Regions from separate parts of the Homo sapiens genome. Here all the other regions are linked to region 2. The links are contacts of gene promoters, found by promoter capture Hi-C in human tissues and cell types (Jung and others, 2019). All regions are on one chromosome and are shown on one strand. The core of a region is centred on a gene start or on the middle of the fragment in contact, and the rest is flanking DNA. Distances in the headings are between cores, read along the strand shown.

Region 1 (2,700 bases), core at 114-2,613, 370 kb after region 2:
TGGGTGACAGAGCAAGACCTTGTCTCTAAAGAGAAATAAAAAAATAGAGAGAGAGAGAGAGAAGGAAGGAGAAAGGAAGGAAAAGAGAGAGGTGACCAGAAAGAGAGACCTGTAAGATGTCAAGCTCCTGGATCCAGCCAAGCCTGAAGCTAGGTTGCTAGTTTTATAAGCCAATAAATTTCATTTTATGCCTGAGAATAAAAGAGTGTAAGGATGTTTAAGTTGGGTTTTCTGTCACCTACAACCAACAGAATCCAGATGAATGCAAACACTATCATTATTTCTATTTTACTCATGTATATGAGGAATCAGAGGCCAAGGAGATTGAAGTAAATTATCCAAGGCCACACAACTGTGAACTGGAGCACTTGTACTTGAGCGAGATCTGCCTTACACCTGAAGCTGCTGGGTTAGAAATCTTGGTCTCTTATAGGGCTGTCCCTCTGCCTCCAGGAGCTGAGGGTTGGAGATTTTAGAAATAGCATGTGTTCAGAGCTGCAGGTACCTGTGGTGTTTTGAGGAGGCCAGGGAGGGAGTAGAGGAGGCTACATAAAAATGAAATACATAATTGTTATTTAAATCAGTTCAGATGCCATAAGAAGAAAAATCAAAGCTTTCTGTGGCATTTACCCAGTGCCATTTTTAATTCTACCTTATCAAAACACAGCTGGGATTAGTTTTTCAAAAAGGAAAAGCTCCTTTAATAAAAAAATAAAAATGTTCTAATAAAAGTTAAAATAGCCCACAGGCCCATCAGGTGACAAAGGAAGGGAGACGGGGGCATTTTAGCAACTTAAAGCAGATTAAGAAACTAATTTGTTGACTCTTTTCTCCAAAGCTCACCTCTCCCTGGAAGGCTGTGTGTTTTGCATAATGAAGCTGAAATCACCCTGTTCTCTCTGCTCTTTGCAGGGATTTCAATAGGCTCCCATCTCAAGTTGACGGGGACAGCTTGGAGGCCTTTCTTCTTCTTGCTCTGGCCAGGGTTTAATGGAATCATTCAACTCCACTTTACTTAAACTCTTTACAAGGTTTCCCACTGCTGGGAGGGGCTCACAAGGCCCTGAGGACATTCCAGTTTCATCATATACCAGCTCCCCGACCCCAAAAGCAGGAACCTGTGACTATGAGACATTTACCTAGTAAAAGAAACTTTGCAGATGTGACTAAGTGGAGGATTTTGGGATGGAGAGATTATCCTGGATTACTCAAATAGGCCCAATGTCATTACCAGGGTCCTGATGGAGAGTCGCAGCCAGAGACAAAGATGTGATGACGGAAGCAGACATCAGAGTGGCTTGGGGCTATGAACCAAGGAATATGGGCAGCCCTCCAATGCTGGAAAAGGTAAGAGAGTGGATTCTCCCCCTCGAACCTCCAAAAGGAACCCAGCCCTGCTGACCCATTTTAGACTTCAAACCTCCAGAACTGGCAGATAGTAAATTTGTATTGTTTAGAACCGGGGATGGTGGTGGCCATCTGTAGTCCCAGCTACTCAGGAGGCCAAGGCAGGAGCATCGCTTGAGTCCAGGAGTTCGGGACCAGCCTAGGCAATATAGTGAGACTCTATCTCTTCAAAAATTTTTTAAAAATCACAAAAACAAACAAACAAAAAAGAACAAAAAGTTTTTAAAAACTAGCTGGGTGTGATGGCACTTGCCTGTAAGTCTCAGCTACTTGGGAGACTAAGGTGGAAGGATCACCTGAGCCCAGGAATTCAAGGCTGCAGTGAGCTATGATCGTGTCACTTGCATTCCAGCCTGGGTGATACAGACTCCATCTCTAAAAAATAAAGAAACAAGTAAAGAAAGAAAGAAAAGAAAAGAATGTAAAGATTGTCTTGCTCAAGCCACTACCTTTATGGACATTGTTTCCCGTAGCCATAGGGAACTCATCCGCTCACGCTGAAAAGCAGCATGGGAGCGAAGGGGCCGCAGGACCTGTCATGGATCAGGATGTGAAAGGCCCACGTTCTAGTCCCAGCTCTGCCACGATGCCCAGGGGGTGGGAGGGCTGGCCGGCTGCTCCCTGGGACCCCTTCCAGAGCTGGCAGCCTTGCTCTGCTGAAGTTCACACTCACAGGGACAGTGATCACAGCAGCCCAAGGCTTCAGGACTGTAGCAGGGGCTGGCAGGGGGTCAGGGGGCAGGAAAGGCCCCTGGCTGGGGGATCATGAGGGGTGAGGGCAGAAGATCTGGGCGGTCCAGGGGAGAAGACACTGACACCTCAATCCCCAGCACTTGAGGAACAAGCTGTGTGGGCCCCCAGCTACTACTACCTGGTTCTTTTTGAGTGACACACAGGTTTACCTCTCATGATCAGCCAGTGCCCAAAATCAGGCGGACAGACAGAGCAGCAGGTTGCCGTAAAAGCTATGCCAGGATGGATTATGGGGAGAGGCCCTGATGACCAGAGAATCCCCATGCCTCTTCACTCTGCTCATAGACAGTAAGGAGGTGCCTCACCACTCTATGATGTAGCTCACCTCTGACAAGACCTGAAATAAAAGCCACCCAATCACAATCATTATGTTACTAACTGGCACTTATGTAACCTGTACCATATGCTAGGCGCCATTTTAGGTCATTGAATCTTCACTCAGCCCTTCCAGTTTTGTATCTCAGTTTTAAAACGAGGAAACGGAGGCGAAGAGTGGTTAACTCACAGCCCAAGGCCACTCAGCTGAGAAGCAGCAGAGCT
Region 2 (2,700 bases), core at 17-2,516:
AAGTCTCGCCGGGAGCAAGTGACAGCCTTAGGACTTGAACTCAGGAACCCCACGGCTCTAAAGTGTCCCCCCTTCCCATATATCCCTGTGGCTTCTGACCACAAACACTGGATTTGTGGACATATGTCAAACATTTGGGACATAAATGACTGACAGACACCCAGGCAGATCAGCCACAGCAGTTCTGACGCCCAATCTTTGATAAGCACAATTGTTGGGTGGCCTCATTTATTGCCCTCACCCTGATATTCAGCCACAGCTCCCACAGTGCCCTTCCCCTCTCTGGCCTTCCATTTCTGGCCTGTCCAGAAGGGACCCCATCAAGAAGATGAGCAGTTCGAGCATCTCGAAAGGAACTCAGGCTGTGGGCCACAGTGCTTGGCCTCAGTGACAACATGGCTTGTATGTGCTTGGGGCTGGCAGTGGGAGTGGAGGTGGGGCCAGGCATGCAAACACTATGCTAACAATAAGCACTTATTAAGCAACTATGGTGTCCTAGGTGCTGAGCAGTGTACTGGCCACGCATTGCCTCGTTTCACCCTCATGCCACCCTATGAAGGAAGAGCTACCGCTAGCTCCATTTTACAGACAAGGGAAACCAAGACACAGAGAGCATAAGTTAAATTCCAGAAGGCCCACAGGAGGTAAACAGAGGCATCCGGAAGGAAACCCCAGGGCCTCTGAACCCGGTCCCCAGGTCTCGATTTCTACCTTATTACTAAGCAGGGCCTGTGCACCTGCTCTGGGCTGGTCCTGACCCGGGAATGACTGATGGATCACGGGGTTCTGAGTCTCATGGGGATCCTGGCCCATTGCCACAGAACATGTGAAATGGCTTGGGGTGCGCTTTAATAGGGGTGCGCCTGGAGTGCTGCGCGGGTCCAGGGGTCTGGGCGGGCTTCCCGAGGGGACAGGCTCCTGGGCGGGGCGGTACAGGAAAGGGGGCAGTTCGCCGGTGCCAGGGGTGTGTGCAGGGAAGGAGTGCGTTCTGGGAGGCGCGAATCTCTCCCCCACACTTCCCTAGAAAGGGAGAACTGAGGCCCGGAGAGGGGAGGGGACCGGTCTGAGTCCCCTCCAAGACTGCAGAGCCTCCCTTCCCGAACCCCGCCCAGGGCTCGCGGCCCCGTCGCACCCTTCCCGGCTTCATCCTCTCGAGCCCCTAGGGCTTTTCCCCTTCTCACCGCGCGCAGCTGTCAGAACCCCAACCGCCTTCCCCGCGCTCCCAGCTCCGGGCCGCCGGCTCCCGGGTCCTCCTTCTCCGCCGGCCTCTGGCCCCGCCCCCGGCGACTTGCCATTGAACCGCCCGCAGCCCTCGTCGCGGCGGATTGGCTTTCCCCACTTGTCCTTCCCTCGCATTTCCGGGTTCCCGCGTCCGCGTCGGCTTCCCCGGGAAAGACGCGCCGTGGGCCACTCCCATTGGTTGTTGCTTGCGTTTGTCTCGTTCACGTAGCAGCCAATAAGCAGCGGGAGGGGCGGGGCCTAGGCCACAGGCAGGAGGAGCAGGTGCTGGAAACCCGATGGGCGTGCGGATTTGGGGCACACTAGGTGGCGGGCCCGGAAACTGGAAGTTCCACGGCGGTCTTTTCCTCGGGTCTCTTCGTCCCGGAGCCGCTGTCGTGTGCCTCATTTTTCCCGGTTGTGAAATGAAGATGCTGATGCTTTTCACCCCTTCACCCGGTTAGCCTGCTTGACTGCGCAGCCCCTGTTCTTAGCCTCCACCCCATGCTGCTGAGTTTGCCGCCTTCTTCTTCTTTACTCTTTTCCTCTCTGTGTCTTTTCCTCCCTGACTTAAACAACTTTTTTTTTTCTTATAAAATACAGGGTCTCGTTGTGTCGCCCAGGCTGGAGTGCGGTGGAGCAATTGCAGCTCACTGCAGCCTCCACCTCCTGGGCTCAAGCAATCCTCCCATCTCAGCCTCCCGAGTAGCTGGGACTACAGGTGCATGCCACCATGCCCGGCGAATTTTCTTTTCTTTTCTTTTCTTTCTTTCTTTCTTTTTTTTTCTCTCTCTCTGTCTTGCTTTCTTTCTTTTTTTTTGAGACGGAATCGCACTCTGTTGCCCAGGCTGGAGGGAAGTGGCACGATCTTGGCCCACTGCAACCTCCGCCTCCCAGGTTGAAGCGATTCTCCTGCCTCAGCCTCCCGAGTAGCTGGGATTACAGGCGCGCATCACCACGCCCGCCTAATTTGTGTATTTTTAGTAGAGATGGGGTTTCACCACGTTGGCCAGGCTGGTCTCGAACTCCTGACCTCAGAAGATTCGCCTGCCTCGGCCTCCCAAAGTGCTGGGATTACAGGCGTGAGCCATCGCGCCCGACCTATTTCTGATTTTTTATTTTCTTTAGAGACCGGGTCTCACTATGTCGCCCGGGCTGGTCTCGAACTCTTGACCTTAAGCTCTCCCTCCATCTCGGCTTCCCAAAGCGCTAAGATTACAGGCGCAAGCCACCCCCTCGGTTCTCCCTGACTTTTTAATTTGTATCCTCTCCAGAAGGACCTGGCTAGTTCTTTTGGCTTCCCAGAGAGAAATTTTTTCCTTGAAGCAGAGAATGGAAACCTCCATCTTAATCCACAAATACTGAAATTAAACATCTAGGGAGGTGCCCCAGAAACGCTAAGCATTTAGAAGTTAGCAGTTCAGATTCTGGGGAGTCAAAGAGACCTGAGCTCAAATTCAGACTTTGCCATTTACTCTCCGT
Region 3 (2,700 bases), core at 87-2,586, 490 kb after region 2:
GGAGCTGAATTGGAGAAGGCAAGACTTGTTACAATAAGTGCTGGACATCTACAACCATCTGATCTCCGATAAACCTGACAAAAACAAGCGATGAGGAAAGGATTCCCTATTTAATAAATGGTGCTGGGAAAACTGGCTAGCCATATGCAGAAAACAGAAACTAGACCCCTTCCTTACACCTTATACAAAAATTAACTCAAGATGGATTAAAGACTTAAATGTAAAACCCAAAATCATAAAAACCCTAGAAGAAAACCTAGGCAATACCATTCAGGACATAGGCATGGACAAAGACGTAATGACTAAAATACCAAAAGCAAAGGCAACAAAAGCCAAAATTGACAAATGGCATCTAATCAAACTAAAGAGCTTCTGCACAGCAAAAAAAAAAAAAAAAAAAAAAAAAAAAACCAAAAAAAGCGATCATCAGAGTGAACAGGCAACCTACAGAATGGGAGTAAATATTTGCAATCTACCCATTTGACAAAGGTCTAATATTCAGAATCTACAAGAACTTAAAGAAATTTACAAGAAAAAAACAAACAACCCCATGAAAAAGTGGGCAAAGGATATGAAGAGACTCTTCTCAAAAGAAGACATTTGTGCGGCCAAGAAACATGAAGAAAAGCTTGTTAAAAAAGTAAGGAAATGCTGGTGGGGAGAAGAAAGACCTGTCGGAGAGTATAGGACTCACTCAAGCTGTCCCACTGCCCCACCCCACCTCTGCCTCCGTATCCCTCTAGGTCTAGTGCGAATAAAATGAGCTCTCATGAAAATCTCTGGGGTGAGGGTGGGGTGGAACGCACCCAGCTGAGTAGCAGGACAAATGGGTCCCTGCCTGGCTCTGTCATTAACCTGATGGATGACCATGGATGAGTTCCTCCATGCCTCAGTTTCCCCTTTTGTAAAGTGAGGCTGCTGTGCTGAGTTATTGACCTCTGCTACTTGTCACTTCTCCCAAGGAGGAGGCTGAGTAACCAGAGGCTTTCTGAGCTCTGAGGAAGGACTGAGTGACCCTCCTCAGTGGATTTAGACACCCCTCCTAGAATCTCCATCACCTGCCTGCATTTGTTGATGTAGATTCACATTTTCTGAATGTTAGGTCAAGGGCTTTGCCCACTGTGCCTCTCCAAGCCAATCCCTCCAGCAAATGGTTCCAGGCAAACTGCACCCCTAACCGCCCCCATAAGAAGAAATTCACTAACATTAACACTCATTCCCCTGCTGAGGGCTTGGACCTCTGTCTGCTCCCAATTCTTCCATTCCACCCACAACTCATGACTTTTCATTCAACACATGCTTATTAAATTTGTTTTAGGCACCTTTTATGTGCTAAGAAGTATGCAAGGTCTTACGGCTGTGTGTCAACGGCAGTGTAGAGAGAGTTCTGTCACTAACCCCCACTGCTCTCTGCCACCACCAGTCCCGATGGGCAGAGCAGCAAGTGGAGGTGACGATCATTTATTGAGTACTTGCTATGTGCCAGGCATTTGACTTGTTCATTCTTCCACTGACTTTTCACAAGACTGCATAGATTCTATTATCATCCCCATTATGCAAATGAGGAAAGTAAGGCTCAGATAGGTGAAGCCTCTTCACTGAAAGTCACCCAGCTAAAAACAGTAGAAGGTGAATCTACCCAGTCCCAATTCCCTTGCTCTTGAGTATAAAACCACACTGGCTCCTATTACAGTAATAAATAAATAAATAAATAAATAAATAAATAAATAAATTTTTAAAAATCAGAATTGTGTAAGTTCATTTTTTCTCTCTGGTCCTACTGCACTTGGCACATAAGAACATTTATCACATTGGTCAGCAACTATTTATAAATCAACTTAAACTCCTGAAGAGTAAAGGTGGACACTTTTTCATCTCTGCATTCCTAGTATACAGTAGGTGCTCAAAACAAATTAAATGAATTGAATTGAACTGAATCTAATTGACTAGAGTCAATGGAATCAAATGGAATTTAATGGAACAAAATTAAATTAAACTGAATTGAACTCTGGCCACTAGGTAGATGGAGACTGAGATTACGGGTCAGAGAAACCACACAAAATGCTTTAACCCCTTGCATATTGGACCTGTATTAGAATGCTTTTGAGTCGCAAATGATAGAGACCCAACACAAACTAGCTTCCACAAAAATTAGAATATACTGGTTCATGACATAGGAAATCTCAAAGTAAGTTTGGGATTCAGATATAGCTGGATCCAGGAGTTCAAATTAGACTGTGTCAAGGAACTCTGTCTCTTGACCTTTCTTCTGTGTTTGGCTCGCATGATGTAATGGAAAACATAGCCATTGGCAACCGTGGAGTCACATGGTCCTGAAAAGACACGTCAGTAGGAGAATCATCTTTTCTAAGAGCTTCTGTAGAAAAATCCTAGAGAGAGCTCTGATTGCTGGCTTGGTTCATGATTGCACCATTGACCCAATCACTGTAGCCTGAAGAAGGAGATATTCTGATTAACTACACGTGGCTTCATGCCCACATTTGTGGCTGGCAAGAGGAAGCCAAGCTGCTTAAAATGGGCTCACCCCAGGGAAGAGGGGTTTGCACTCCAGGAGAAGAGGGCTGGGAAGTTTCCAGCAGGAACACATCTCAAATCTCCACACTGAAGACTTTCCCCAGACAGGTGTGGGTGAGCTCACTAAAAGCCCCTTTCCAGTAGTCACTTGAAATATAAACTCCA
Region 4 (2,700 bases), core at 13-2,512, 310 kb after region 2:
TCCCACCAGACCAGGCATCAGGCTGAGATGTCCCACACAACAGGTGCTCAAAGACTTGTTGAATGAACGAATGACCCTCTGTTTCCTTATCTGTCAACAGGAGGGAGAGGAAGATACATGGTCCTTTATTAATGCTTTTGGAAAACACAGGCATGTTATGCATCACGGCCTGATTAATGGACTGAGCTCCATGGATCAGGATATCAATATTGAGTCAGTTTCCTTCCTGTCTTGGGAAAGATCTGGTGACCCCTTTCCCACGGACCTTTGGTGCAGGCTGCGACCAATACAACCATGGTCCCTGTCCTCAGAGTTGTTTCACCCTTCTGAGCTCATTAGCGTGGTTACTGCCAGCCCGCTAAAATCCTCTTCAGCCGTTCCTCAGGGCTCCACCTTCAAATCCTGCTGTGGTAGCAGAATCTCTCGGAGACAGGAGGTCAGATATGTAAAACAGGGACAAAATCACAGGCCACTTGAGGGTGGATTAATGGCCAAGTTCACACAATCTATCAGCTCATCTCCACAGCGGTCTGAAGACTGCTGAAATGGCAAAGTCACCCCAGCTGGGCTATTTATCTCCAGTAGAGAAACCAGCATCTGAAAAGAACCCTCCTGGTGGCAGTTTTTTTTCCTCCTTTACTTTTTTCTTTTGCTACAATTAATCTTTTCATGGAATTTTGCTCTCTTCAATGAAGGTGATTTGTTAAAAGGGTAGCTAAACATGAACTAATTTGTATGCCTCTGATTTATAGTTTGTGAACAGATTCACGAATAGGAGGCCTCATGCTGTACTGGAGTCAACCAGATCTAACCAGATCTGGGTTCAAATCCCACACATGATGCTGCAGTAGCCTCAAATATTACTCAAGCTCTTCGGGGTGCAGTTCTCCACCTGAAAAGTGGGAGCAAAAATTCAACTAGGGTTGTCAGGCTGAATTGTGTGCCCTGTCCCGCCCCCCACCCACACCCCAACAAAATGACATGTTGAAGTCTTGACTTCCAATTCCTTAGAATGTGGCCTTATTTGGAAATAGGGTCATGGCAGATGGAATTTTGTTATGAGGCTAAACTGGAGTAGGCTGGGTCCCAATCCAGTATGACTGGTGTCCTTATAACAAGATGGCTATATGAAGACACAGACGCAAAGGAGATGGTCATGTGAAAATGGAAGCAGAGATTGGAGTAATGTGGCTGCAAGCAAGGGATTGCTGAGGATGGCTGGGAACACTGGAAACCAGGAGAAAGGCATGGAACAGAGTCTCCCTTTGAGCCTTTGAGAGTGCATGGCCCTGCCAACACCCTGACTTCAGATTTCTGGCCTCCAGAACTGTGAGAGAATAGATATCTGTTGTTCAAGCCACCCAGTGTGTGATACTTTGTTATAGCAGCCTGAGAAAGCTAATACAAAGATATTGTTAAGGGTGACCTAAGTAACATTAATTTGATGCATTGAGCCTATCACAGGGTCTGGCACAGAAGGAAGACACAAGAAATACTTTTTCTCCTTCTGGGGATTCTCTGAAACACTGGAAGGTGGTCCCTCCAGAAGACCACCCAGTGCTGCCTGGGTTTCCTTGTACCGGCGATGGAATTTCCTGCTCATATCTAGGCTTCCCCAGGGCAGAAGGGATGCACCACTCACTTTGGTCAAGGCATAAGGATCCTACATACTAAGCTCACCTATATGCTTTCCCAGAAAGCCAGTTGTGATACCCCATGACTGAATGGGGTCCCTCCTTTGGGGTCCCCCAAAACTTTTCTAAATTTTCTTAGTATTGTCCATTATTTTTTCAAATTAGAAATAATTTTGGCTTATTGTAGAAGAACTTTTAATAAAATGAAAAGGTGTTATAATGGGGAAAAGCACAGCTTCTTCCTCTGAGGAATATTCACAACCTGTGCTTGAATCATTCCTGTATCTCCACCTTCCAGCAAAGATCTGGGCATGTAGTAGGTGTTTGATAAATACAGAATGAATGAATGAATGAAAGAATAAATGAACGAATGAATGGAGTTAGAGATCTTATATTTTAAGAAAGAAATAGTATAAGTCCAGTGGTTAAGAATAAGGGCTTTGGACTCTGATCAAATCGGGCTGGAGTCAGCTCTGCCTCTTGGCATCTGTGTGATGTTGGGCAAATAATTGAACCTCTCTGAGCCTGTTTCTTCATCCGTGAAATGGCACTCAATATTTTTACCTGATATGAAGCTGAAAGGAAAATATGGACAAATAGTCCCTGACACAGAGCACCTCAGTAACCTGCAGCCATTGCATCTCCAGCTGGAGGAGATGGGAAGTGGGTGCTCCTGCTATCCTTCCAAAAAAATGCAGACTAAATCTTCCCATGGCCACCTTCACACCCAGCCCAAGCCTCTCTGTAATCTCATGGAAATAGAAGCAGCACAACCTTTGAAGTCAAAGTGGGTTCAGCTCCTGGCTCTGCCCCAGATTAGCTGTGTGACTTTAGGAAATTCACATTACCTCTATTCCTCCATTTTCTCCTGCAAAATTACAGTATAAATAATAATAGCTGGCATGTATTAAGGTAGTATGCAAGCTTATTATAATAATAATAGCTGGCATGTACTTTCTGTACACTGAGAAGTGACGTGATGTAGTGCTTAAGGTTCAGGTGTAAGACTCACAACACCTGGGTTCACATACTGGTTTACTCCCTCCCCCAGGTGGGTAATCTTGGG
Region 5 (2,700 bases), core at 24-2,523, 330 kb after region 2:
CACTGCAGACTTGAGTGATAATGATGTGTCAGTGTAGGTTCATCAACTGTAACAAAGGGACCACTCTGGTGCGGGATGTTGATGGAGGGGGAGGCTGTTGGAGGAGGGTCTGGGGTTATATGGGAACTTTCTGTACTTGCCGCTCAATTTTGCTATGAATCTAAAATGGCTTTTTAAAAGTCTATTTAAAAAGGGGGGACAATAATTTATTTGAAAAGGCAGAGACCCACTGAGGTACATGTCAACGAAATATCCAAACTGTGGGCTCTGGGGAAGGGGCCATGTTGCAGGAAGGGTCAGGGGATTGGAGAGAGATGAAGGGGTGAGCTGACAGTCTCCCTTGTACAGTGGTTTGATGAAAGGGACCCAAGGTGCAGGTCACCCAGTCCACTGGCCACCCCATGAGGCAGCTGGCAGCCCTTCTCCAAGTGCAGATCACTTTCTTCCCCAAGAGGGACTTCTGAAGGGACTTCTAAATCCCTATCATTAAGCCATCTGGAGTCATCCTTCTCCTCCAGGAGCTGCTGTGTCTTGGGTCAATTAGTGCACATTTGCATAGAGTTCCTTAATAGGCTGGGGGAGATAATGGACGGTTCTGCTGGTTCTGGGCAGAGTGTTTACCCAAGAGGCAGACCTACAGGGAATGGCAGAGAACAGGGAGGAAGGCAGGAAGGAGGAGATAGGATGGACTAGGATAGGATGAAAGGGAATGGCGTAGAGTAAGCTATCATTGACTCACATACAGTAAGGAGAAATGTTATCTTGTGAACCTTTGCCTCGGTTGTGTGTGCGCATCACAATGTCAAATACATTTCTCACTGTGGGGTCACTGAAATAATTGGAAAGTCCTAGCATGGAGAATAGGAGGAAGCTGTGTGTGGTAGGGTGGTTCCCAAAGGCCCCTCTCAGAAGGCATTTGAGCTGAGATCTGCAAAATGACAAGGAGACAGTCATGGGAGGATCTGGGGCAAGAATGTCCCAGGCAGCAGGAGACACCATGCAGAGACTGGGAGGTGGAAAAAGGTCAGTGGGGGTCCATCCCACAAGGGCCTAGAGTTTCTGCTCAGGACTGTTCTTGAACTGCAGTGTGACCGGAGCCCATTTCCTAAATAATACATTGAGGACATTCCTGTCCCAGTGGGATGTGACCACTTCTCAGAGGCTGAGCTGAAAAATGCTTGTTGATTGCTGGAGCTTAGAAAGGTCCAAGGTCCAGGTGCTTGGCAAGGCTTGTGGGAGGATTTAGAATTTCTTTCTGGCTGGGGCTCAGGGAAATGTGGCCCTCAAAGCCTAAAATATTTACCTTCTAGCCTTTTACAGAAAGTATTTGCTGACCCTTAATTTTCATCAGCAATGGAAACTGATACAGAGTTTATGGGGGAAGGGGCTTAGGACCACTGAAGGAGTTCACCCTGTCCCTCTTCAGAGCTCAAAGGCCACTCTCAGGTCACTCAGCTTCTTCCTTACAGCAAGTGACAGAGCTACAAGAAAGCCTGGAGATCCAACACCTAGCGAAACAGCCTTCCTTTACATAAGGGGAAACTGAGGCTTGGAGAAACTTGAATGAAATAACCTCTGTCCATATAAAATGTCTCGCATAGACCTGGACCCAAGTAAGTGCTCAATACTTTTTAGCTATTACCAAGATTATGATTATGATACCATAGAATCCTAGAGTTCAAAGGGCCCTTAGACACCAGCTAGTTCAAGTCTGATGTTTTACAGATGAGGAACCCGGGGGCTCAGAGAGGCTGGAGGAGTGGTCCAGAGTCACACAGCCAGGCCAGGGCTGAGCTGGTTCCTGCCCTGCAGGTTTCTTCCCAGAGCACACGCTGCTCCCTGGCAGCCCCCATTGCTCCCAGCCGCAAACACGAGCAAATTGCCATTTGCTGGTTCCACACTGACCACGGTGGATTGAACTCTAATTTAGGAACGGTGACAGCACCTATTAGCAACCCTTCCCCAAAGAGGAACTTTCCACCAGGAGTGAAAAATAACTGCCATCCCCACCCCCAAATCACCCAAGCCCAATCTTTCTGTCCAAGGCAGTGTGTGTGTGTTTGGGGGGTGGTGGTGGAGAGGTGGTCTCTGTGCTCCCCAGCCCACCTCTACAGGTTCAAATTCTCTTCCCCTGTCCCGGAGAACCTTGTGCCCTTGGAGGGGTTGCCAGCACCTACTGCCAGCTCTGAGCAGGACTGAGAGGTGGGCTCACAGCCATCAAAGCAGGAGGGAGGACTGTTCATAACCTCCAGGTCAGCTTCCTCACAGACATATGGGGTAACTGAGGCCTAAAGGGGAGGTGGAGGGTGACTCTACCCAGACCCAGTTTTCCTGCATCCCAGCCTTCAGCCTTGGCACCCTCCTGAGAAAGAAGAAAAATGGATAAACACCTTTTGTTGCACAATTACTATGTGCCAGGCCCTTCCATGTACCCTGTGCCATTGCCTCTCCCCAGGGGCTCTGCTTGGTAGGTTGGGTTTAATCTCACTTTACAGATGAGACAACCAAGGCCTGGAGAGGTCAGTCAACTTGCCAAAGGGCAGAGCTGGTGAGTGGCAGAACAAGACTCAACCCAGGCCTGTCTGACTCCAGACCCTTAATCCTAACCTCTATGTGACATTGTTTTCTGTGGAAGTGCCACCCTCTGACCTCTGACCTCGGGGCCTCCTCTCTGTGGGGCAAGTGGAGTGATTTGGAGGC
Region 6 (2,700 bases), core at 95-2,594, 350 kb after region 2:
CAGCAAGTCCATTTGCTGGTTAGCAAATGAGCCCACATGAAAAGGAGACTGGGTACCCCCTTTGTCCCCACCTTCTCCTACATCACATCTCTGAAACCCATCAGGTCAGATGAGGCTTTCCTGGACTGGGATGTGAGGAGTTATTGGGCCTCCTTGTCTCCTAAGCATTGTGACCCACACAATGTGGAGATGTGGGTAGATCTGTTGGAGAGAAAGCTGTTGCGGGCAAGGAAGGCATTCCTCAAGTTAGATTCAGGCTGGAGACTGGTGTTGTCCACTGAAGCGAAACATTCACATACCTAGGACCCTGCAATTCCACTCCTGGGTATACACCTACAAGAAATGAGTGCTTAAATCTCCCACAAGATTTGTACAAGAATGTCCCTAGCACCTCTGTTCATTAGGGTCCCAAACTGCAGAAAATCAGCCATGTGTCCTTCAAAAGGAGAAAGGATTAAAAATTGAATGAACAAGAAAGAAACCGCTGATATATGTGACATCGTGAATAAATCTCACGGATTTATAAAAATAACATCAAGCAAAGGAAGCCAGGCACAAAAGAAAAGACAGTACAAGATCCCATTCATATGAAGTTCAAGGACAGGCAAATTAATCTCTGGTGACAGGGGTATCAATTAGGAAGAAATGCAAAGAAACCTCTCTGGAGTGATAAGAATGGTCTGTATCTTGACCTTGGCAATGGTTCCATGGCTCTATAAGTTTGTAAAAATTTATTGATTTTGTACTTTACAGTATGTAAGGTATACCATTGTAGGACGTTTTCAAACATCCCCCTCTCTGAAAAAAAAAAAAAAAAAAAAAAAGGATTTAAGATTAAACAACAGTATAAATAAGTGAAGGGCTACAGGTCTAGTGGTAATGCCAACCACTCTGTCATGGGTCCTGGGCTGTAGAGAAGACAGTGACCCACTGGGATGTCAAAGGCAAGCCATCACTGATGCCACTATGTTTCACTCATTTATTCACTACCTTTCCAGGCATTCACTTATTCTTTTAGTATCTTTCCTTAATTTTTTTTATCCATGCTTAGTATATTAGTTTCCTGTGGCTGCAGTAACATATGACCACAAACTTACTAGCTTAAAAAAACATAAGTTCATTCTATTCAGTTCTGAAAATCAGAAGTGTAAAATCAAGATGTCTGCAGGGCTGGTTCCTGCTGGAGGCTTCAGGGAGAATCTGCTTCCTTGCTTTTTCAGCTTCTAGAAGCTGCCTGCATGCCTTGGCTCCTGGCCCCTCCCCTTCCTGCCTGCATTCCATCACTCCAACGTCTTCTATCATCGCATCTCCTGCTACTGACTCGGATCTTCCCTGCCTCCCTCTTATGAAGATCCTTGCGATGACAGTGGGACCACTTGGAGAATCCAGGATAATATCCCATCTCAAGATTCTTAACTCATTTACGTCTGCCAAGTACCTCTTACCATGCTTAAGGTACCATATTTGCAGGTTCCAGGGATTTGAACGTGGACAGGTTTGGTGGGGCAGAGGATGATTATTCAACCCACCACACTTAGAAAGAAGAATGGTATAGACTTTTTCTTTCTTTTTTAATTTTAATTTTTATTTTTTTTGAGACAAAGTCTTGCTCTGTCACCCAGGCTGGAGTGCAGTGGTGCAATCTCTGCTCACTGCAAGCTCCGCCTCCCAGGTTCATGCCATTCTCCAGCCTCAGCCTCCCAAGAAGCTGGGACTACAGGTGCCCGCCACCACGCCCAGCTAATTTTTTGTATTTTTAGTAGAGACGGGATTTCACCATGCTAGCCAGGAGGATGGTATAGACTTTTTACGAGCTCAGACTTGGAATCAGATCAGACCCATCTGGATTCAAATACTACTTATTAGTGGTATCACTTAGCTGATGACCTACCACTTATTAGCTTCATGTCCATAGGAATACGATTCAGCCTCTCTTGAAGCCCCAGTTTTCCTGCCTATACAATGAGGCATCACTCCACTTCCTCCAGGTTTTTGTGAGGAGTAAGTGAAGTGATGTTTAAGGCAGTTAACACAGAGGCTGGCACAAGATGCAGGCTCAACACACAGCCTGTGCATGTAGTGATATCTTATGAATGAATGATATTGATGGAAACAGCCATTTACCAAGTCCAGGGTACTTTGCTAACCAGGTCTGTCAGACTCCAGAATCCATCAGAAACTGTTCTGGAAGGGCCTCCAGGTCTGAGCAGAGGTCATTTGGAGAGAGAAAAGAGAAGGCCTTACTCCCAGCCCCTCCAGAAAATGGAGGAAATGCATTCTCCAGGATGCTCAGAAGAGGGTCTGAGCCCTGTTCCTCTCCCCAGGAGGGAATAAACATCCAAGCTTTTCTGGTGGCTGCCTGTCATTTATCAGAGATGGAATTTCCTTGGCACTTTGGGAAAAATAGATGCCAAGATGCAGAAAGAAATAGATTTTTTTCTTTCCCCCAGAAGTAGAACTTGGCTCATACATGTGTGGGGCACATTGATACAAATGGAATGAGAAAGCTCTGGGAGCCCTGGGGACTGAGGGTGTTGCTTGCATCTGAGTGTGAAATGGGTTGGGGGGCTGGGGATCCCCCAGCCCATTTTCCAAGGCATATGTGTTTGATTATTCCACCCGTGAGTCTGAAGGGGGCTTGGTGACTCCTCCCTATGAACAGGCAGGATTCCAAGAGCTTCCGGAGAGATGTGAGCCTGC

The links. The method cuts DNA at HindIII sites, captures the fragments that hold promoters and counts their contacts. A contact is called where the count stands out against the background at its distance.
Region 1: a fragment that was not itself captured here is called in contact with the fragment with the promoter of FICD in region 2 in 3 of the 25 tissues and cell types used here (H1 embryonic stem cells, dorsolateral prefrontal cortex and lymphoblastoid cells).
Region 3: a contact is called between a fragment that was not itself captured here and the fragment with the promoter of FICD in region 2, in 2 of the 25 tissues and cell types used here (H1 embryonic stem cells and aorta).
Region 4: a fragment that was not itself captured here is called in contact with the fragment with the promoter of FICD in region 2 in 2 of the 25 tissues and cell types used here (mesendoderm cells and thymus).
Region 5: a fragment that was not itself captured here is called in contact with the fragment with the promoter of FICD in region 2 in 1 of the 25 tissues and cell types used here (dorsolateral prefrontal cortex).
Region 6: a fragment that was not itself captured here is called in contact with the fragment with the promoter of FICD in region 2 in 1 of the 25 tissues and cell types used here (H1 embryonic stem cells).

Annotation. Positions count from the first base shown.
Region 1 is chr12:108,140,158-108,142,857 of GRCh38, reverse strand. All of the region lies in intron 1 of WSCD2 (WSC domain containing 2), which reads right to left. Among named protein-coding and RNA genes, the nearest start is that of WSCD2, 12 kb to the right of the region's middle. The HindIII fragment of the contact is 3,933 bases long and covers 1-2,700 here.
Region 2 is chr12:108,513,843-108,516,542 of GRCh38, reverse strand. FICD (FIC domain protein adenylyltransferase) reads right to left here and starts at 1,266. Exons shown (of 3, transcript NM_007076.3): 1 at 1,182-1,266. RefSeq lists an enhancer at 1,735-1,794. The HindIII fragment of the contact is 17,239 bases long and covers 1-2,700 here.
Region 3 is chr12:108,026,092-108,028,791 of GRCh38, reverse strand. No RefSeq gene overlaps it. Among named protein-coding and RNA genes, the nearest start is that of WSCD2, 100 kb to the left of the region's middle. The HindIII fragment of the contact is 5,655 bases long and covers 1-2,700 here.
Region 4 is chr12:108,199,779-108,202,478 of GRCh38, reverse strand. All of the region lies in intron 2 of WSCD2 (WSC domain containing 2), which reads right to left. All of the region lies in intron 2 of LOC124903077 (a long non-coding RNA gene), which reads left to right. Among named protein-coding and RNA genes, the nearest start is that of WSCD2, 72 kb to the right of the region's middle. The HindIII fragment of the contact is 3,550 bases long and covers 1-2,700 here.
Region 5 is chr12:108,183,684-108,186,383 of GRCh38, reverse strand. All of the region lies in intron 1 of WSCD2 (WSC domain containing 2), which reads right to left. It overlaps LOC105369965 (a long non-coding RNA gene), which reads left to right. Exons shown (of 3, transcript XR_001749312.2): 2 at 1,470-1,613; 3 at 1,726-1,815. Among named protein-coding and RNA genes, the nearest start is that of WSCD2, 56 kb to the right of the region's middle. The HindIII fragment of the contact is 8,455 bases long and covers 1-2,700 here.
Region 6 is chr12:108,162,264-108,164,963 of GRCh38, reverse strand. The region is part of intron 1 of WSCD2 (WSC domain containing 2); the gene reads right to left. Among named protein-coding and RNA genes, the nearest start is that of WSCD2, 34 kb to the right of the region's middle. The HindIII fragment of the contact is 8,834 bases long and covers 1-2,700 here.